7 separate regions of the Homo sapiens genome follow, and regions 2, 3, 4, 5, 6 and 7 are each linked to region 1. The links are contacts of gene promoters, found by promoter capture Hi-C in blood cells and fetal thymus (Javierre and others, 2016). All regions are on one chromosome and are shown on one strand. Each heading gives the region's core, a stretch centred on a gene start or on the middle of the fragment in contact. The rest is flanking DNA. Distances are from core to core; before and after follow the strand shown. Region 1 holds the start of SLC16A14 (solute carrier family 16 member 14). Region 2 overlaps CAB39 (calcium binding protein 39). Region 3 overlaps LOC124907996 (formin-like protein 16). Region 4 has its middle 32 kb from the start of LINC01907. Region 5 has its middle 54 kb from the start of LINC01907. Region 6 has its middle 82 kb from the start of LINC01907. Region 7 has its middle 100 kb from the start of LINC01907.

What was found. Contacts are between HindIII fragments. The CHiCAGO score rates a contact against its expected background, and 5 or more counts as called.
Region 2: a contact is called between a fragment that was not itself captured here and the fragment with the promoter of SLC16A14 in region 1, in 2 of 17 cell types (total B cells and naive B cells). The highest score is 6.6, in total B cells.
Region 3: a fragment that was not itself captured here is called in contact with the fragment with the promoter of SLC16A14 in region 1 in 1 of 17 cell types (total B cells); the score reaches 7.0 in total B cells.
Region 4: a fragment that was not itself captured here is called in contact with the fragment with the promoter of SLC16A14 in region 1 in 2 of 17 cell types (total B cells and naive CD4 T cells); the score reaches 5.2 in total B cells.
Region 5: a fragment that was not itself captured here is called in contact with the fragment with the promoter of SLC16A14 in region 1 in 5 of 17 cell types (naive B cells, fetal thymus, total B cells and 2 more); the score reaches 6.6 in naive B cells.
Region 6: a contact is called between a fragment that was not itself captured here and the fragment with the promoter of SLC16A14 in region 1, in 2 of 17 cell types (megakaryocytes and neutrophils). The highest score is 6.1, in megakaryocytes.
Region 7: a contact is called between a fragment that was not itself captured here and the fragment with the promoter of SLC16A14 in region 1, in 1 of 17 cell types (megakaryocytes). The highest score is 7.2, in megakaryocytes.

What each region holds. Positions count from the first base shown.
Region 1 is chr2:230,067,428-230,070,390 of GRCh38, forward strand. It overlaps SLC16A14 (solute carrier family 16 member 14), which reads right to left and starts at 1,497. Exons shown (of 5, transcript NM_152527.5): 1 at 1,128-1,497. All of the region lies in intron 1 of LOC107985995 (a long non-coding RNA gene), which reads left to right. RefSeq lists enhancers at 205-975, 1,371-1,490, 1,501-1,560 and silencers at 351-600, 871-1,140. The HindIII fragment of the contact is 4,045 bases long and covers 1-2,963 here.
Region 2 is chr2:230,716,060-230,719,022 of GRCh38, forward strand. All of the region lies in intron 1 of CAB39 (calcium binding protein 39), which reads left to right. Among named protein-coding and RNA genes, the nearest start is that of CAB39, 4.7 kb to the left of the region's middle. The HindIII fragment of the contact is 4,922 bases long and covers 1-2,963 here.
Region 3 is chr2:230,691,385-230,694,347 of GRCh38, forward strand. All of the region lies in intron 3 of LOC124907996 (formin-like protein 16), which reads right to left. LINC01907 (long intergenic non-protein coding RNA 1907) reads right to left here. Exons shown (of 4, transcript NR_040038.1): 4 at 1-849. Among named protein-coding and RNA genes, the nearest start is that of LINC01907, 7.7 kb to the right of the region's middle. The HindIII fragment of the contact is 8,742 bases long and covers 1-2,963 here.
Region 4 is chr2:230,666,606-230,669,568 of GRCh38, forward strand. No RefSeq gene overlaps it. Among named protein-coding and RNA genes, the nearest start is that of LINC01907, 32 kb to the right of the region's middle. RefSeq lists enhancers at 1-678, 629-923, 893-1,372, 1,413-1,462, 1,483-1,562 and 2 more. The HindIII fragment of the contact is 4,213 bases long and covers 1-2,963 here.
Region 5 is chr2:230,645,147-230,648,109 of GRCh38, forward strand. No RefSeq gene overlaps it. Among named protein-coding and RNA genes, the nearest start is that of LINC01907, 54 kb to the right of the region's middle. The HindIII fragment of the contact is 984 bases long and covers 979-1,962 here.
Region 6 is chr2:230,617,311-230,620,273 of GRCh38, forward strand. No RefSeq gene overlaps it. Among named protein-coding and RNA genes, the nearest start is that of LINC01907, 82 kb to the right of the region's middle. The HindIII fragment of the contact is 2,666 bases long and covers 61-2,726 here.
Region 7 is chr2:230,598,718-230,601,680 of GRCh38, forward strand. No RefSeq gene overlaps it. Among named protein-coding and RNA genes, the nearest start is that of LINC01907, 100 kb to the right of the region's middle. The HindIII fragment of the contact is 8,478 bases long and covers 1-2,963 here.

The DNA of each region.
Region 1 (2,963 bases), core at 247-2,746:
AAAGGTTAAACTAGCAGGCTGTGGAAACCAAATCGGAACCCAGGCCTGCAGGATCCCAAGCCTGTTTTACCTCCTCCCACCCCCAACACTGCCTCTCTCCCCTCTCTTCTCTCTCTCTCTCTCTCTCTCTCTCTCTCTCTCTCTCACACACACACACACAGCCGCACACGCACGCACATGCAAACAAAGAAGCCAGACAAGGCAAAGGAGAATCTCTCTAAGCCCCAATAATGGCCCTCAGTCATCCTTGTTAATGAGCCCGAATCAACTTTTCCTCAGAAAGAAAATGGCTTAATTGGAAAGCAGAGTTCAGCTCCTAAAACATCGTCATGGCCTTGGCAGCGTTTAGCCCCGAAATGGCCGTCCCCGGTCTCTCACCCCATTTCAGCCTCTCTTGAGGAGCCTCAATCGGAAGCGCTAAGGGGGCCCAGCCTCTGCGCGCCCTGGGTGCGGGATCGTGCCCGCGGGGTCCGGCCTCGCGCCCCACCCTTCGAGCGCCCGCCCCCACCCGCGCTCGGTGCTCCCGCTCCCTTGGCACCCCGAGACCACATCCCCACTTCGGGCACCCCGCATCCCTCGGCGCGTTCGGAAGCCAGCAGCCCACCGGGGAAGCTGGGCCGGCTGCAGCACCACAGCCTGTGCAGAGAGGCATCCGCACCCCGCGAAGTCCCTAGGCGCAGCCCCGGGTCCCCCGCTCTGCGCCTCATCACTGTCCAGTTCGAGTCCCAAACGGGCCTAGAGAGCAGCCGGGCAGCGAGGCTGGGCTCCGGGCAGAACGCGCTTCTCCAGCCGGACGGGGGTGCCCAGGATGACGCTCGCGGGGCCCCGGCCAGCTTGAGCAGCAAGGCGCGCGTCCCCAAGCTCCGCCTGGCGGTCTGCCCTGAACCGCCGGTTACCCTGCCCGCCCGCAGCTCCCAAGCCCCCGCGGCGGCCTTGGCACTACCACCTGCCCCGGCACAGTCTCGCCCTCCACCGCCCGGGCAGCCTTTCCCGAGCCTGCCTTGGGCTGGGGCTGCCCCTTCCCGGGGGTCCCTGGGGGTGCAGCGGCCATCTGAAACCTAGGCTCCGATGCCCCCGGCGTCGCTCCATTCCCCAGGCCCGCGGCGCGCGCGGCCTCGGATACTCACCGCCCGAGGCCCGCTGGGCTGCGGCCTCACTCGGCTCCACGCCCGGATCCTCGAACTTGCTGCTCTGCTTGGAGCCCCCTGAGCTGCTGGGTGTAGAGATTTGTTGCAATGTCGCCTATCATCCTGGAGACGCGGGTGCCTGCGGCTCAGCTCTCCGCCCGGCTCGGTGCGCTCTGTGAGGGGCTCCCGGGCTCTTCCGCCGCTCGCTGCCAGGCCAGGTGAGCGTTTGGTGGAGCTGAAAGCTCGACGCCTCAGTCCAGGTGGCTTTAAAACGGGTGCGTTTGGAGGTGCCCAAACCTAACCTGGGCTTCCTTCCAATCGGAGCAATTTCAAATCTTCATGCTCGTTCATTCCTATACCGGCTAATTCTGGTTTGGCAGGGAAAAAAAATGCAGTCACCTCACATGCACACTCTTGTGGCCGGTTGAAGTTTATAGCTTTGGCTGAGGTTCCGCTAAGGCGCTGCACATTTATCACTGGCGGAAAGGTCCTGAAATCTAATCCAGGATGCAAGTGAGACTAGCAGTAGCCTCCATTTCTCTGAGATGGGAGAGAAGGGATGAAACAGACCCTCACTGAAATATTTTTGGCCAAAGAGGACTCAAAGTCCCTTATTCTCTCTCTTTTAGAGACACGGGTTTCACTATATTGCCAGGCTGGTCTCGAACACTTGGACTCAAGGAATCCTCTGGCCTTGGCCTCCAAAGTGCTGGGATCACAAGCTGAGCCACCGTGACCGGCCAGTCCCTCATTCTTGTTTCCACCCTGGGTCCCACCTCTCCCTGCTCTTTCTGCACGTCCATTACCTACCTTCGTGGGCACCAGGCACAACTTTCATCTCAATACCTCCCTACCTCATTCCCAGCAGGGCACACAACATAGTGCTTTGCCTTGGACAGTTTTCTGTATTATTGAAGTGAATGTGTGAGTCGATGAAGCCTGTGCTGTTTTTTCCCGCCTGAAGGTTTTGCAGTAATTCTCTGCTGCTGTTGTGATAAACTGCCACAGTAATAGCAGAGGAAAACCACACAAATTCACTATTTTACAGTTCTGGAGGTCGGAAGTTTGAAATGGGTCATACTAGGCTGAGATCATGGTGTTGGCCACCTTGAAGGCTGTGTTCCTTCTCGTGGCTGTAGGGGAGAGCCACCAGCTTCTGCAGGCCGCCCACATTCCTTGGCTGGTGGCTCTTCCTCCATCTTCAAAGCCAGCACTGCTGCGTCATTTTGTCTTCTTTCCATACTCACATTGCCTTGTCTCCCCTTTTCTGCCCCCACCCCTGTCCACTTTTAAGGACCCTGGGGATTACATTGAGTCCAATGAGATAATCCAGATAATCTCTCTATTTTAAGGTCAGCTGATTAGCAACCTTAATTCCATCTGCAACCTTAATTCCCCTCTTGCCATGTAAGGTAACAAATTCACATGTTCCAGGGATTAGGATGTGGACATCTTTGGGAGACCATTATTCTGCCTACCACAGATTTCCTTCTTTCTTCTTTTCCTTTTTCTTTTCTTCCTTCTTTTTCGTTTCTTTGAAAAAAAATTCACATGTATTTCACATTGCCTTCCTCGGTCACCCAAGCTGGAGTGCAGTAGCATGATCACAGCTCATTGCAGCCTCAACCTCCTGGGCTCAGGTGATCCTCCCACCTCAGCCTCCTGAGTAGCTGGGACTACAGGCACACGCCACCATGCCTGGCTAATTTTTTTGACTTTTTATAGAGACGGAGTCTCATTATATTGCCCAGACTGGTCTTGACCTTTTGGACTCAAGTGATCTGGCTGCCTCACCCTCCCAAAGTGCTGGGATTACAGGCATGAGCCGCTGCACCC
Region 2 (2,963 bases), core at 304-2,803, 650 kb after region 1:
TCTTGTACTAAGTCAGTTTTTTCCCATGTATTTTACATTCTAAGGTGTATTAATAAGATCTCTGTTTCTGTTTCATCACGTATGAAGTAAGATGCTGAGTAAGGCTGTATACGTTTCCTAAAGTTAATGTAGAAGAACTGCTAAGAAAGTCCAGTATAAGTATGGGGTTTGGTAACTTGATTTTATTTGAATGTTTGTATATTGCAAATACGTATGCCACACAGGGTCTTTATTACCTTGGAATATTTACTAAAGTTTTCTGTTTTGATCAACTTTTGTGGGATTACAGATTTCTTTAGTTATTGCCATACTTTCCCAAGAGCCTTTTTTCCAGATTGATGACTAATCACTCACAGTTTAGCCATCTGCCATGAAAATACACAAATCCAACCTCCCCAACCCCCAAAAATAAAATTCAGTAGTAGGACGAATTTTGTTTCAGGTATTGTCTTTTGTTTACCTTTCTGGCATTGTTTCTATTCCAGCTCTATTTTATTTTTTAATTTAAAAAATGTTTTAATTAAAAGAGATGGTGTCTCATTCTGTTGCCCAGGCTGGTCTTGAACTCCTGGGCTTATGCCATCCTCCTGCCCCAGCCTCCCAAAGCACTGGGATTATAGGCCTGACCACACTGGCCTCCAGCCCTATTTTAAAAGGTCAGGCCGAGCGGGGTAGCTCACTCCTATAATCCCAGTGCTTTGGGAGGCCAAGGTGGGAGGATTGCTTGAGCCCAAGAGTTGGAGGCCGATCTGAGCAACATAGCAAGACCCTATATCCACAAAAATAAAAAATTAGCCGGGCATGGTGGTGTGTGTGCCTGTTGTCCTAGCTACTCAAGAGGCTGAGGCAGGAGGGATTGCCTGAGCCCAGGAATTTGCAGCCTCAGTGAATTTTGATCACTGCATTGCAGCCTGAGGTGACAGAGTGATACCCCATCTCAAAAAATGTATATATAAAATAAAAATAATAAAAATAAAAATTCATTTTCCTCTTTTTCATTGCTTCTTTTAATTGGGCATTTGATTTTATGAACGTCTTTACATGTTACAGAAATGGGACTGTGGAAGGTGGATTAATTTGGATAACAGAAAAACTGGTAAACATTTTTTTTTACACACTTTGATAAAATTGTGGGGAAAAAATATCAAATCTGAATCTCTGGGTTAAATTACTTGTGACTTGTTATTACTGAGGTGTAAAGATCTGGCATTATTATGAAGTCAGGTAATCTAAATTTGCATAGCAATTTAGTCATCAGTATCTTTTGGCCATTGTAAGAAGACTTGTATTAGAGCCTTCTTTAATTACAGAAGGAATTGAGCTGTGTGAGAGTTCGTACGTTCTGTGCCCTTAGTGACTTTCCGACCGGATCCCAACCACTACTTTTTAAAAAATTCTCCTGCAAGGGTGTCTTGCAGTGAGAAAGAGAGACTGGACTCAACTCCCCTCATCTCTACAGTCCGGAATATGGGGGCAGAGCAAAGTGAAGCAAATACTTCTGCCGTCACCATTTGTAGAGTAGAACAGTCTGTGAATAAAATGATCAGTGTTCTGCCTCTGTTTCTCAGGCCCTCCGAGGATTATGAGAAGAGTTACTACAGGCCTAGGTGGCAGATCATAGACTGGTGGTGATGAAATCAGGTTAACAGCTAGTTGCCATCTGCATTTTTGGGGGGTGTTGTGCCATTTCTGTCTCACTGAGCTTCCCAGTCCCACTGTGCTTTTAACTTTTAAAACAGAAGGGGTGAGGGGACAGCAGAATTGTGGTTTATAGCAGCTGTGATGTTAAGCCTGCAGAGGAAGGCAGGATGGCATGCAGAGAATTGCGGGAGGTCATTCGGGTGTGAAGTGGCTCCAAAGGAGGGAGGTAAATCCTGCCTTGGCCCTTCATGTTGACCATATCCAGTGCATACCTATTTGTATGATCTTTAATAGCTTTTGTCTTGGTACTCAGAATATAGTGTTTAAGTTATAGATTGTGTTTGCTTGTTTATGTGTGTATTCATATGCATGTTTCAAAGATGGGGAAAATCTAGCCATTATTTAGTGGCAGTTTGTTTTTATATGGTAATTATTCTTTGGGAGCATTATCCAGCAAAAATTGTTGAGGACCACGGAAGTATGATACTGTTAAAAGATCACACACTTTATTTGGTAATACATTTGAGAAACAAAACATACATTGTGTATCTTGATCTTAATTAAGTTCCTACTTTGTGATCTTGTCTCATGAACTGTAACTTGCTCTTTACAGTGTACTGACTATTAACATGCTAGTCACTGTTGTCTCCCTCCACAGTAGATTATATATCAGCTGTATTGAGGCACTAGGAAGAAATACTTGGACAGGTTTCTGTTTACATGTCTGTAGTTAAGGCCCGCTTTTAGGTTTATAGAATTTGGAGAGGTAGTGTTAGCCAGTGGTTAAAAGCGCAGGTGCAGCCAGACTGCCTAGATTTTGAACCCTCATTCCTCTGCTGTGGGCTCTATAACCTTAAGTTCCTTCTGTCTAGCTTGAATTCCTTGGATGGTAATAGTAGACCATATCTGAGAGGGTTGTAGGACGATTAAATGAGTTGCTACATCTGATGTGCTGCCGTGTATCAGATGCCTAGACATAAGTTTTGTGATGCTCATGATAGGCTTTTCCAGGGGGGAGAAACTTTAGAACTTCAGAAACAACCTAGGCAGAATGGTTCTTTCTGCAGGTGGGAACACTGAGGCCCACCGTAACTAGAGCAGAGTTTGGTTCACTTTGAGCAGTAACAGGTGTAGCTTTCTGCAAAGTGAAGTCTCTTTTCTAGGGTTTTATGGCTTATTAGCCACAGGACTGAATCTGGAGCCTGGTTTTCTTCATTCTTTGTCCAGTTTACTTGAATTAAGTATCATACTTTATGCAGTAATGTCTTCTTTTGGACCTTTTCACTAACATTTACAAAGGTTGTATTCAAAATATATTAAAT
Region 3 (2,963 bases), core at 174-2,673, 620 kb after region 1:
ACACCAGTATGGACAGACAGCACAGATGAGTCCCTGCTTCTAGGGTGCCCCATTGGTGCCAAGAGCATAACCACAGAGGTCCTTGACTACTCCTTGCAACCCTTGCTGGACACCCCACTGCTCCTGGCCCCCCTAACTGGAAGACTTTGGTTTCATCCTCACTTAGGTAGTTGGACATGGAGCTGTCTGCCGACTTGGGAACCTCTCAGCCATGCATATAGGGCCATGATATTGCTAGAGGACTTTTGTTCTTCTGCTTATTTTTAAAAGACCAGTCCTGTTCAAAGTCATCTCCAAGCACATGAATTACATAAAAATAGGCTTTAAGGCTTAGAGAGATGAAACTTGGCATCAGAGGTCCCTGAGGAACGGCCACTGCAGCTTGACACCACTTTGAGCCAGGAAAACTTAGTCTTGGCCACTTAGAGTAGGCACTTAACTTTGAACGATTGGAATTTTCAAACAACCAGGTTCTAGGCAACCACTTGGTTAAAACCTTGTTATACAAGCCCAAATAACAGGAGTCAGCCAAGACCACCCTGACTTGAAGAAGATTCTCCATCGTGAAACAGTTATCACTGAGCAATCTTAAAATCCACCAGCATAACCAGATACCAGCTGCAAGCCAATGCCTACCACAGCCGTCCCTAGACAAGGTCTCCCACCCATTCTGCAGGGATTCCAAAAGTGCAGAGAACGGGGCAGGGGGCTAGCTCTGCCATTTTGACCCCTCCAGCATGTTCCTTGGGGAAAAAGCCAGAATACGGGTGTGCATTCTGCCATGACATCAACGTAGAGGGACGCAGATGTCAGATCTTCTGGCAAGACATACTCAGGTCAAGGTCAGGCCTAGGAAGACAATGAAGACTTCTTTACTCATTTCTGATGCCAGAGCCTCTGAAAAACTGGACTCTGTAATATTCTTGGTCCCTTGAAATGCTGGTGCTATGGATGACATAAACAAGACAATCCACACCATTTCTTGTACCAGAGCCCCACTTCCAGCCATCATAGCTCTGTTCATCAAGGTTGAGTCCTAAATCCACGAACTACCCACTGGCCACAGTTTGCATCCCAATTCTGGAGACATAGTACAAAGCCTAATGTATGTCAGTCTACCTCTCTATCCCCCATCTTTGTTGAAAGTGTGGCCAGACGCAGTGCTAGGATTCACACCTGTAATCCTAGCACTTTGGTAGGCCGAGGCAGGTAAATCACTTGACGTCAGGAGTTTGAGACCAGTCTGGCCAACATGGTAAAGCCCTGCCTCTACAAAAATGCAAAAATTAGCCCCGTGTGGTGGCGGGCACCTGCAGTCCCAGCTACTTAGGAGGCTGAGGCAGGAGAATCACTTGAACCCGGGAGGCAGAGGTTGCAGTGAACCACTGCACTCCAGCCTGGGAAACAGAGCAAGACTTCATCTCAAAACAAAAAACAATAAGTGGGCCAGTCCTCAGAGGCATCCTACCACCGCTACACACAAGACTGATTTTCAGCTGGAATCCACTGTATTTAGTTGGTGCCTGTATAGTTATACTTACTGAATAATTTTAACATCTCCCCTGGCTACATGCCATACAGTCAGCATAACTCATTCTCCTATCTTGCTTCTGATGAGTCTTTCTACTTTGTTATTATTATTATTTTTTTTTAGATAGAGTCGCACTCTGTCACCCAGGCTAGAGTGCAGTGGCATGGTCTTGGCTCACTGCAACCTCCACTTCCCAAGTTCAAGCAATTCTCATGCCTCAGCCTCTGAGTAGCTGGGATTACAGGCAGGCACCAACACGCCTGGCTAATTTTTGTATTTTTAGTAGAGACGGGGTTTTGCCATGTTGCCCAGACTGGTCTTGAACTCCTGGCCTCAAGTGCTGTGCCCACCTCGGCCTCCCAAAGTGCTGGTATTACAGGTGTGAGCCACCATGCCCGGCTTACTTTGTTATTCTTTATATGACCCAGAACACACTTTCTGCAGTAAGTACAGATTCTCAAGCACCATGAATTGCCTCCTCTGTACAGGCACTGGGCAAGGCCTGGGAACATCACAGAGAATACCCAAAGTCCCTAAGAATTCTCAGGGGTTCCCCGGTTATCACTAGCCCGCGGGACCTCGCCACCGACATGCTTGTTTTATCAAGCTGAAGCAGGTATCTGACACATCAAAGGAAAATCAACTATGGATGGTGGAGCCTCAGGCAGCCAAAGAGATGATTACAGAATGGAGACATCATCTGGGTCTCCTCACCCTTTTTGTCACATGACCTTGCTGAAATCAGGAAGAGCACCTTTCGATTCCTGTGAAGTTGCAGAGATGGCAAGTCCTGTTGCTTGCTGCCTTCAAACACCCCTGACTACACACTCAACCCAGTGGAGCCATCACTGCCTGTCCTGTGCCCCCACCAAGAAGGGGAATGAGATGAGGTCAGATTGATTAAAAATGTGCATGCCTTTTATTTTTTTGGCCTCCCCCTCCCCAGATTGTAGGGCTTCCCCTTGGCAGTTTTTTTTTGTTTGTTTGTTTGTTTGTTTTGTTTTGTTTTGTTTTTTGAGACAGAATTTCGCTCCTGTTGCCCAGGCTGGAGTACAATGGCGTGATCTTGGCTCACTGCAACCTCCACCTCCCAGGTTCAAGTGATTCTCCTGCCTCAGCCTCCCAAGTAGTGGAGATTACAGGTGTGCACCACCATGCCTGGCTAATTTTGTATTTTTAGTAGAGACCAGGTTTCACCATGTTGGTCAGGCTGGTCTCAAACTTCTGACCTCAGGTGATCCACCCTTCTCAATCTCCCAAAATGCTGGGATTACAGGCGTGAGCCACCACGCCCAGCCTCCCCTTGGCACTTTTAACTTCCAGGCTTACCCTTGGCCTTCATACTGGTCACTAAGCCAGCTCCAAGACCTGAGTGGCACCTGCTCCAGTCCAGTTCTGCCTTGGCCTGGCTTCTGCCCAATGCCTGTCCAGG
Region 4 (2,963 bases), core at 229-2,728, 600 kb after region 1:
TTTTCCATCTCCACTGGGACCTCCCCTTTCACCCACCGGAACCCAGGAGGCTCTGATGCCTTGAACACACAGAAGGGCTCCTAATCTTTTGTACATCAAAGTCGCCCCAGCTTCTTTGCTGCCCAAGCTCACTGGTGTGGTTTCCTAATGTCCCCGACAGTTTGGGAGATCTCTGCCAAGGCTGGCCACCTGGTACCAGCCCAGGTGCCCCACCTGTCTCCCACCCCCAGGTCTCTGGTCACCTCCTGGATACTGTGAGTACTGGAGAACTTGCTGCTTGGGGACACCAGCACTCTCTCCCCTGAGGGCTGGGGCATATGCTCTCCAGACCCACCTTTCTCCTTCCCTCTCAGGACCCCTGGAGTGATCTCATCAACATCTGGCTTAACTCATCAGGGGATTTTCTGCAAGTGAGAAGGCTAATGCCTCTGGGGCCAGGCAGGCCTGGTGAATGTATGACAAAACTGCAGGGCATGGTAGGAGCGTGTACTGGTTTTCTAGGGCGCCGTAATGAAGTACACACAAACTGGGTGGCTTAGAACAATGGAACTGTGTCGACTCACAGGTCTGGAAGCCAGAAGCCTGAAATCGAGGTGTTAGCAGCACCATGCTCCCTCCAAAAGCACTGGGAAGGATCCATTCCAGGCCTCTCCCTGAGTTTCTGGGGGTTGCTGGCCGTTTTTGGCATTCCTTGGCTTGGAGACACGTCACCCAGTCTCTGCCTTCAGCATGTGGTATCTTCCCTGTGTGTGTCTGTGTTCCCATTTCCCCTTTTTCGAGGACAGAAGTCAGATCAGGGGCCCACCCTACTCCAGTATGACCTCATCTTAACTCATTACATCTGCAATGACCCTCTTTCCAAATAAGGTCACATTCTGAGATACTGGCAGTTAGAACTTCAACATGCATATTTGAAGAGGGTGCAATTTAGCCCCTAACAGGGCTGACGAGCCCTAGAGGGTGAGCAAGTCCACTCCAGTTTACTGTTGCCCTGCAGGGCTCTGGGAGCCTGTCCAGGGTTTCCTGGGACAAGGTACTTTCTGTGCCTAAACTGGGTGAGTCCCAGGAAGCCAGCTTGGTTAGTCACCTCAAATGGGGCCCTATCTTCTTATGTTTCAAGAGAAGTCAGAAACTCTGACTTCACGTGAAATCTCCCAGTTTTTGAATGGGCATCTAATTTGACAAATTTTAAAATCCTGGGCCCCATCTGAGGGTGTCTAGCCTGCGAGTGGCCAGTGGTCACCCATTGCCTAGCATGGCAGGGCAAATTGTAAGACTCCAAAAACTGCAAATAACAGCAACTGTGGCCATGAGCTCAGGCTGGGCAACTTGTTCTGGGGCCCTGCATCAGCCCCATCTCTTTGGAAGCCTTCCTGGGCCCCTACTACCCATGCTCAGCAATGCTTCTGGCTCCAGAAACTTCCAGCACTGTTTCAGATAGGGGGACTGGCATTTGCAAACTGTCTTGGAGTTGGTGACCCAGAAGGAGGGACCCCAGACTAGAGGAAGATGAGAAGGCAGAGAGTACCAGACAGTGCCATCTAGGGAGAAGAAACAAGTCATGAATATCTGATGTAGGGATGGGACGGACACTAAGTGGGAAAGGCCACCCTGCTGCCCAGCCCCCACCACCGCCAGCACCACCAGGCTGGCCATCTCTTTCCCACCTTCCCCACCACCATGCACGTGGTGCCATGCACCGCTGCTCCTCACCCACTCAGACCAGCTCCAGCACCTTTGGAGGTGAGATTAGCTTCTCACACAACTTCTAAGTCTTGATCATAGCACATGCTCTGCGGTTTTGCTGATGGTGACTAACGGAGGGAATTTCAGGCTAGATCAGAAAGGAAGGTGGAACAGGGTAAAGTGGGTGAGGATGAGGCTTTCTGGTTGCTCCTCCCCAGTGTCCAGGAAGTTGCCCATCCAAGCCTCTTTCCCCTGGTGGGGCTTGCCGTGCTGTGTCTCTGGTTTGCTGGCCTGGGCAGTGCCACACTGCCAGGCTTTGCAGATCTGGAAGGGGAAGGAACAAGCCAAAGAGGAAGTGGCATCAAGAAGAAGATGGGAAGGGCAGTCTCCCCCTTCCCTCTTGCCAGGCCTGCAGAATTGGGGAACCCGTATAAAAGACAACATCCCTGCTGGGAGCTGCACCCTCTGCCCGGCCCGGCCCCAGGTGCCCTGATCTGCCTGCCACGACCTGGGCAAAGCATGCTGTTCCTGCACATACTCGGGCTTTCTGAAACCTGAGAAGGCAAGGGGGGTGAGGGAGAGTCCCACACAGCCCAGGCCCAGCTGGTCAGGCTAATTTTAGGTTTTTCTCAGCCTGACTGAGGCCTACTAATCTCCACCATGCCAGAGAATGCACATGGAGCAGAGGCTGTCTTTACTCATGATGCCCCCTCATCCCTCCAAAAAGCTCCTTTTTCTGTCCAATTTCAATTTCTCTTTGACCTGCCCCAGGCCCACCCATCCCAGGAAATCTGCCCCGACCACCACCTCACAAAGAGAGCTCTCCCTTTCTCAGTGTGTGGGGTAACTGTGGTTGGAAACCACAGTACAGCCCTGTGTCCCCAGCCCTGGCACAGTGCTTAGCTCAAAATAAGCCCTTGGTAAGTGTGGGTGGAATGAATGAATGAGCGTTTTATTACACAGTGACAGCATGCTACATGCAGGTTAGGTCTAAAGTTAGCAAATAAGGTTAAAAGAGTTCAGAGTTTAAATTACCCTTGAAACTCCATCAGGAAGACAGCTTATTGGGATTGACATTAGATCTCCTCAAGAAGTCCAGTACAAATCCATTTCCTTTTGTTGAGGAGAGGGACCTGGACCGCTGGCCCAGCTCCCCAGCCCTTGGCCCAACACACGCACTTGCTCAGGAATTCCCGAGGTTTATGGGACATGCCTCCAAAAAAACATACATCTAGAACTCCTAGATGTAAGAGCCTTCCCATCGCCCATCAGCCTTC
Region 5 (2,963 bases), core at 221-2,720, 580 kb after region 1:
GAGGCTGAGGCAGGAAGATTGCTTGAAGCCAAGAGTTCAAGACTGCAGTGTTCTATGACTGTGCCTGTAAAGAGCTATTGTACTCCAGCCTGGGCGATACAGCAAGACCCTGTCTCTAAAATTTGAAAGAAAGACTGGCCAGGTGCAGTGGCTCACTCCTGTAATCCCAGCACTTTGGGAGGCCGAGGCAGGCAGATCACTTGGGATCAGGAATTCGAGACCAGCCTGGCTAACATGGTAAAACCCCATCTCTACTAAAAATATGAAAATTAGCCAGGTGTGATTGTAGGTGTCTGTAATCCCAGCTACTCAGGAGGCTGAGGCACAGGCATGAGAATCACTTGAACCCAGGAGGAGAGGGTAGCAGTGAGATGAGATCGTACCACTGCACTCCAGCCTGGCTGACAGGGCGAGACTCTCTCAAAAAAAAAAAAAGGGGAAATTTTTTTTTTTTTTGAGACGGAGTCTTGTTCTGTTGTCCAGGCTGGAGTGCAGTGGCACGATCTCGGCTCACTGCAACCTCCAACTCCTGGGTTCAAGGGATTCTCCTGCCTCAGCCTCCCAAGTAGCTGGGATTACAGGCATGCGCCACCACGCCCGGCTTATTTTTGTATTTTTAGTAGAGACGGAGTTTCGCCATGTTGGCCGGGCTGGTCTCGAACTTCCTACATCAGGTGATCCGCCCACCTCAGCCTCCCAAAGTTCTGGGATTATGCATGTGAGCCACTGCGCCCGGCCGAGAAAAATTATTTCTACTGGTTTGTTTCTAGTTTGTAAAAATCCCATTGATTCTTATATATAGACTTTGTATCCAGCAACTTTTGCAGCCGAGTCTTAACTCACAGAATAAAGGGTGGGACGTTCCTGCTTCGGTTCATGCCTAAGAAAGCTCAGTGACAGGCAGATTCTGAAAGTGATGTTCCAGACTAGAAAACATGGAGTGTCTGTGTTTTCAAGGATCTGTGGGCTTTCCCCCAAAGCTTTCTATTGCCTCTCTCCACTCCTCAGTCACTTACCAGGCTCCCAGTGCATCATGGGCAAATGGAAATCTGGGAAATGGAACTTTAAGTTAGAGCCAGACTAGCTGGGAGAAGGGCAGGCACGAGGAGAAGGAGCGGTGGCTCAGCTTCTGTGAGTCCATGGAGGCCAGAAGTCCATCCTCCAGTTCCCTATCTACCCCCCTATATTTTCTCATGCTTTATTCTCATTCCTCATTACAAAAGGGATGTGAGGTGATGCACAAAACTACCTAATTTGGAAAGATAAAATTAATATAGAAGAAGCCTGAGAAACACAAACCCCTTCTCTACAAAAACATTTTGAAAAAAATTAGCCAGGCATGGTAGCACACACCTGTAGCCCCAGCTATCTGGAGGCTGAGGTGGGAGGATCGCTTGAGCTCAGGAGTTCGGGGCTGCAATGAGCTATGATCGTGCCACTGCACTCCAGCTTGGGTAACAGAACGAGACCCTGTAAAAAAAATTAATATATAAGGAAATTGAAGGGAAAATGGGGACACAGACATAAACTGAAATCAGGCTTGGGTGAGCAAAACTATGGAAGGAAAACACATCAGAGTCTAGGGGTTTGGAGAAGCCAGGGTCAAAGGCAGTGCCAGGGCCAGAAGCAGACCCAGATGTTAGAGCAGACCCAAGGGTGTGCCTCATGCCTTAGAGGGTTGAAATTTATTCTGACCACCGTGATCTCTCCTCTAGATGACTGCATTCACTCCTCTCTGTTCACCCGGCTTCTAGCTCTGCTTCCTCCGCACAATCTACTGTCCAACTAGCAGCCAGAGAGATCTTTTAGAAACACAAATTGGCCCCAGAATGGGAGAAAATATCTGCAAGCCACGTGTGATTAAGGGTCTAGCCTAGGCTGGGTGCAGTGGGTCATACCTGTAATCCCTGTCACGCGCGTTCGTGTAAAGAGACCACCAAACAGGCTTTGTGTGAGCAATAAAGCTTTTTAATCACCTGGGTCCAGGGCGGCTGAGTCCAAAAAGAGTAAGCAAAGGGAGATAAGGGTGGGACAGTTTTATAGGATTTGGGTGGGTAGTGGAAAATTACAGTCAAATGGGGTTTTTCTCTTGCGGGCAGGGGCGGGGGTCACAAGATGCTCAGTGGGGGAGCTTCTAAGGAATTTCACAAGGTTTATTGATCAGTTAAGGTGGGGCAGGAACAAATCACAATGGTGCAATGTCATCAGTTAAGGCAGGAACCAGCCATTTTCACTTCTTTTGTGATTCTTCAGTTGCTTCAGGCCATCTGGATGTGTACATGCAGGTCACTGGGGATATGATGGCTTAGCTTAGGCTCAGAGGCCTGACATTCCTGTCTTCTTATATTAATAAGAAAAAAAAAACAAGATAGTATTGAAGTGTCGGGGCAGTGACAATCCCAGCACTTTCGGAGGCCAAGGTGAGTGGATCACTTTGTCTGAGGCGTTTGAACCAGAGCAACTCCGTCTTGATTAGGAGCCGGGTAAAATAAGGCCGAAATCTACTGGGCTGCATCCCCAGATGGTTAAGCCTTCTAAGTCACTGGATGAGACAGGAGGTCAGCACAAAATACAGGTCATAAAGACCTTGCTGATTAAACAGGTTGCAGTAAAGAAGCCAGCTAAAACCCACCCAAACCAAGATGACCAAGAGAGTGACCTCTGGTGGTCCTCACTGCTACACTCCCACCAGCGCCATGACAGTTTACAGATGCCATGGCAACGTCAGGAAGTTACCCTATATGGTCTAAAAGGGGAAGCATGAATAACCCACCCATTGTTTAGCATATAATCAAGAAATAACCATAAAAAATAAGCAACCAGCAGCCCTCGGGGCTGCTCTGTCTATGGAGTAGCCATACTTTTATTCCTTTACTTTCCTAATAAACTTGCTTTCCCTTTACTTTATGGACTCACCCTGAATTCTTTCTTGCACAAGATCCAAGAACTCTCTCTTGGGGTCT
Region 6 (2,963 bases), core at 144-2,643, 550 kb after region 1:
ACTTTAACAGCTCACAAGAGTAAAATGCTAAAAGAGAAAATCTCCAAGCCTTAGGGAAGAAGCTTAAGGGAGTTACACAGGAAGTTTAATGCCCTTTATATTTGTGTGTAATAAACACACATCATAAGAAAGGAATTCCCTTAGCCGGGCGGGGTGGCTCACGCCTGTAATCCCAGCACTTTGGGAGACCGAGGCGGGCGGATCATCTGAGGTCAGGAGTTCAAGACCAGCCTGGCCAATATGGTGAAACTTTGTCTCCACTAAAAACACAAAAATTAGCCGGGCGTGATGGCACATGCCCATAATCCCAGCTACTAAGGACGCTGAGGCAGGAGAATCTCTTGAGCCCGGGTGGTGGAGGTTGCAGTGAGCTGAGATGGCGCCACTGCACTCAAGCCTGGGTGACAGAGCGAGACTCCGTCTGGAAAAAAAAGAAAAAAGAAAAAAAAATCATTTCATTTCCAAACTTATAAATAACTGGCAACAAGTATTTTTGCAGAAAGCACTAGAGCAAAGTACTCTCCATCACAGCTGAAAAAGGGTTTTATTTAACTTGGAACAGCTGCAGGCACAGAGACTGAAATGTTCCTGCCATTGAACATTGAGTTAGGGAGTTCCCAGCTACACAGGGCAGGGCAGCATCTCTGTAGGACACCTGGAACCAAATGGGCTGAACTGGAACAGAATGAAAGAGAAATCCAGGTGGGACCAGAGAAGTAACTATTCCAAAGCCCTGCTCAGGTGAGTTTTGACTCAAGAAGAATCAGAAATCAGAAGTTCATCTTGGGGCTTCCTATATCTATTAATTTTCTGTTGTCTTTTTTTTTTTTTTTTTTGAGACAGAGTCTCACTCTGTCACCCAGGCTGGAGTGCGTGATCTCAGCTCACCGCAACCTCCGCCTCCCGGGTTCAAGCAATCCTCCCACCTCAGCGTCCCAAGTAGCTGGAGCTACAGGTGCCTGCCACCATGCCCAGCTAATTTTTGTATTTTTAGTAGAGACAAGGTTTCACCATGTTGGCCAGGATGGTCTTGAACTCCTGGCCTCAAGTGATCTGCCCACTTCAGCTTCCCAAAGTGCTGGGATTACAGACATGAGCCACTGCGCCTGGACTTGTTGTCTTAAACTCTTAAGTTAGAGAACTTTCCAGGTCATGGCTAAGACAGACATATTGACCAGAGACACCATCAAAACACTTGCAGCCCAAACTGTGAAGTCATTTCAATATGACACCCAGTGACTCCTTTTGCAATTGTCATTCTCAACCCATTTACACTCTTTCTTCTTATAAGAAGAGATTTTTTGGCTGGCTGCAGTGGCTCACACCTGTAATCCCAGCACTTTAGGAGGCCGAGGCAGGCAGATTTCTTGAGTCCAGGAGCTCAACACCATCCTGGACAACATGGCAAAACCCTGTCTCTACAAAAAATACAAAAATTAGCTTGGCATGGCAGTTCACAACTGTGGCCCAGCTACTCAGGAGGCTGAGGTGGGAGGATTGCTTGAGGCTGGGAGGCAGGTTTCAGTGAGCTGTGATCATGCCACTGCACTCCAGTCTGGTCAAAAGAGTGAAGCCCAGAAGAAAGAGAAAGAGAAGAAAAGAGAAGGAAGAGAAGGGAAGGGAAAGGAAAGGAAAGGAGAAGGAAGAGAGAGAGAGAGAAAGGAAAGAAAGAGAGAGAAAGAGAAGGGAGGGAGGGAGGGAAGGAAGGAGGGACGGAGGGAGGTAAGGAAGGAAGGAAGGAAATGAAGGGGAAACAAAGGAAGAAAGAAAGGGAAAGGAAAGGAAGAGAGAGAAAGAAAAAAAGAGAAAGGAAAGGGAGGGGAGGGGAGGGGAGAGGAGAGGAGGGGAGAGGACGGGAGGGGAGGGGAGGGGAGAAGAGAAGAGAAGAGAAGAGAAGAGAAGAGAAGAGAAGAGAAGAGAAGAGAAGAGAAGAGAAGAGAAGAGAAGGTCACTTCCAAGATGGCCAAATAGCAACAGCTCCAGTCTGCAGCCCCTAGCGAGATCAATGCAGAAGACGGTTGATGTCTGCATTTCCAACTGAGGTACCTGGTTCATCTCACTGGGACTGGTTGGACAGTGGATACAGCCCATGGAGGGTGAGCTGATGCAGGGCAGGGTGTCGCCTCACCTGGGAAGTGCAAGGGGTTGGGGGATTTCTCCTTCCTAGCCAAGGGAAGCCATATGACAGACTGTACCTGGAGAAATGGTATACTTCTGACCAAATACTGCACTATGCCCACAGTCCTAGCAACTGGCAAACCAGCAGATACCCTCCCATGCCTGGCTCAGCGGGTCCCATGCCAACAGAGCCTTGCTCACTGCTAGCACAACAGTGTGAGATCAACCTGCGATGCTGTAGCTGGACGAGCGGAGGGGAGTCCGTCATTGCTGAGGCTTGACTAGCTCACAGTATAAACAAAGAGGCCTGGAAACATGAACCGGGCGGAGCCCACCTCAGCTCAGCAAGGCCTACTGCCTCTATAGATTCCACCTCCGGGGGCATGGCATAATAGAACAAAAGGCAGCAGACAGCTTCTGCAGGCTTAAATGTCCCTGTGTGACAGCTCTGAAGAAAGCAGTGGTTCTCACAGCATGGCATTTGAACACCAAGAACAGACAGACTACCTCCTCAGTTAGGTCCCTGACCCCCATGTAGCCTGACTGGGGAACACCTCCCAGTAGGGGCCAACAGACACCTCAAACAGGCGGGTGCCCCTCTGGGACAAAGCTTCCAGAGGAAGGATCAGGCAGCAATATTTGCTGTTCTGCAGCCTCTGCTGGTGATACCCAGGCAAACAGGGCCTGGAGTGGACCTCCAGCAAACTCCAACACACCTGCAGCTGAGGGGTCTGATTGTTAGAAGGAAAACTAACAAATGAAAAAAATAGCATCAACATCAACACAAAGGACATGCACACCAAAACCCCATCTGTAGGTCACCAACATCAAAGACCAAAGGTAGA
Region 7 (2,963 bases), core at 224-2,723, 530 kb after region 1:
TGGACATAAAGATGGGAACAGTAGACACTCGGGACTAAAGAGAGGGGAGGGAGGAGGGCCAGGGTTAAAAAACCACCTATTGGGTACTAAGCTCACTACCTAGATGACAGATACAATCGTACTGCAAACCTCAGCATCACACAATAGACCTTTGTAACAAACTTGCACATCTACCCCCCACCACCAAATCTAAAATAAAGTTTGAAAAAGAAAAAATAAAAATAAAAAATTAGTTGCATTTCTATAATATATACTAACAACAAACAGCTTGAAAATGAAATTAAGAAAACATTCCCATTTACACTGGCATCAAAAAGAATAAAATACTTAAGAATAAGTTTAACGAAGGAGGTAAAAGATTTGTACAATAAGAACTATAAAACACAGATGAAAGAAATTGTAGAAGACACAAACAGAATAATTAATACCATTAAAATGCTCATGCTATACAAAGTGATCTGCAGATTCAGGCAATCCCTATGAAAATTTCAATGATGTATTTCACAGAAATTTTTTTAAAATCCTAAAATTTGTGTGGAGCCAAAAAAGACCCCAAATAGCTTAGGCAATCTTGAGAAAGAAGAATGAAGATGGAGGCATCACACTTCCTGATTTCAAAGTATATTACAAAGATATTGTAATTAAAACAGTATAGTACTTGTATAAAAAACAGACACATAGGCCGGGCATGGTGGCTCATGCCTGTAATCCCAGCACTTTGGAAGGCTGAGGCAGGTGGATCACCTGAGGTCTGAATTTCGAGACCAGCCTGGCCAACATGATGAAACCACATCTCTACTAAAAATACAAAAATTAGCCGAGCATGGTGGTGGGCACCTGTAATCCTAGCTACTTGGAAGGCTGAGGCACGAGAATCGCTTGAACCTGGGAGGCGGAGGTTGCAGTGAGTCAAGATTACTCCATTGCCCTCCAGCCTAGACAACAGAGTGAGATTCCGTCTCAAAAAAATAAATAAATAAATAAATAAAACAGGCCCATAGACCAATGGAACCCAATAGAAAGTTCAGAAATACACCCATATATACATGGTCAACTAGCCTTCAGCAAAGGCACCAAGAATACACAACGAGAAAATGATGGTATCTTCAATAAATCATGTTGGAAAAATGAAATATCCATATGCAACAAGAATGAAATTGGATCTTTATCTTACACAATACACAGAAATTAACTCAAAATAGATTAAAGAGTTAAAGGTAAGATCCAAAACTGTAAAATTCTAGAAGAAAAGAAGAGAAAAGCTCCATGTCATTGGTCTTGGCAAAGTTTTTTTGATATGACACCAAAAGCGCAGGCAGCAAAAGCAAAAATAGACAAGGGGATTTTCCACAAACTAAAACACTTCAGAGCGGCCAAGGAAATAATCAACAAAATGAAAAAGCAACCTACAGAATGGAGAAAATATTTGCAAGCCATATATCTGATAAGTGTTTTTTCTTTAGTTTTAATATCTTTTTTAAATATACTTAATTTAATTTTTGTGAGTACAGAGTAGGGGTATTTATGGTGTATGATAAGGATTAAATATCTAAAATATATAAAGAATTCATGCAACTCAATAGCAAAAAAAAAAAAAAAACACATAACCCAATTGAAAAATGGGCAAAGGACCTGAATAGACATTTTTCCAAAAAAGATATACAAATGGTTAAGGGGTTTATGAAAAGGTGCTCAACATTACTAAACATCGGGGAAATGCTAGTCAAAACCACAATGAGATATCATCTCACACCTGTTAGATGGCTATCACCAAAAGGTCAAAAGATAACAAGTGTTGGCAAGGATGTAAAGAAAAGAAAACACTTAAATGTTGTTGGTGGGAATGTAAATTCCTGCAGCCATTCTGAAAAACAGCGTGAAGGTTCTTCAAAAAATAAAAAATACGGGCGGGGCACGGTGGCTCAGGTCTGTAATCTCAGCACTTTGGGAGGCCAAGGCAGGAGTTTCAGACCAGCCTGACCAACACGGTGAAATGCCCATCTGTACTGAAAATATAAAAATTAGCCAGGCGTGGTGGCATGCACCTGTAGTCCCACCTACTCGGGAGGCTGAGGTAGGAGAACCATTTGAACTCGGAAGGCAGAGGTTGCAGAGAGCCGAGATCGCACCACTGCACTCCAGCCTGGGTGACAGAGCAAGACTCAGTCTCAAAAAAAAAAAAAAAAAAAAAAACTACCATAGGATCCATCAATTCCCACTACCGGGTATATATCCAAAGTAAATTAAGGACAGGCACAGTGGCTTAACCCTATAAATCCCAACACTTCTAGTTATACGGTATAGCCGTAAAAAGTGAAAGCATTACCTTGGATATTTGCATACCCATGTTTACAAGAGCATTCAGTGGCCATGCACAATGGCATGGTATTCAGCCATGAAAAGGGAATAAAATATTGATATGTGCTGCAGTGTAGATGGACCTTGAAAACACTGGGCTAAGTGAAAGTAGCCAGACATGGAAGGACAAATGTGTGATTCCACTGATCTGAGGTACCTAGAATAAGCAAATTCATAGAAACAGAGAATAGAATCGAGGTCACCAGGGGATGGGAGGAGGGGGAAGGAATGTGGTGTTATTTGTATAACGGGTAGAGAGTTTACATTGGGAATGACAAAAAAGTTTTGGAAATAGTGGTGACGTTTACACGAATGTATTGTGAATGTATTTAATACCACTGAATTGCACACTTACAAATGACTAAATGAGAAATTGATAATGCTAAATAGTCATATATATTAACAATGAAATGATAACTATTATGTATACTTTGCTACAATAAATAATAATAATAATGATAATGGGAGAGGACTCATGTTATTTGAATGTGGAGCTTCGTGTTAATTAGTCCAACTAAGCTATCACATGCTGCTCTCTGGAGCGTGGGGACAGACAATAGCGCTGAGCATAACTGGGGACAGAAAAATAAATTGGCGGGGGCAGG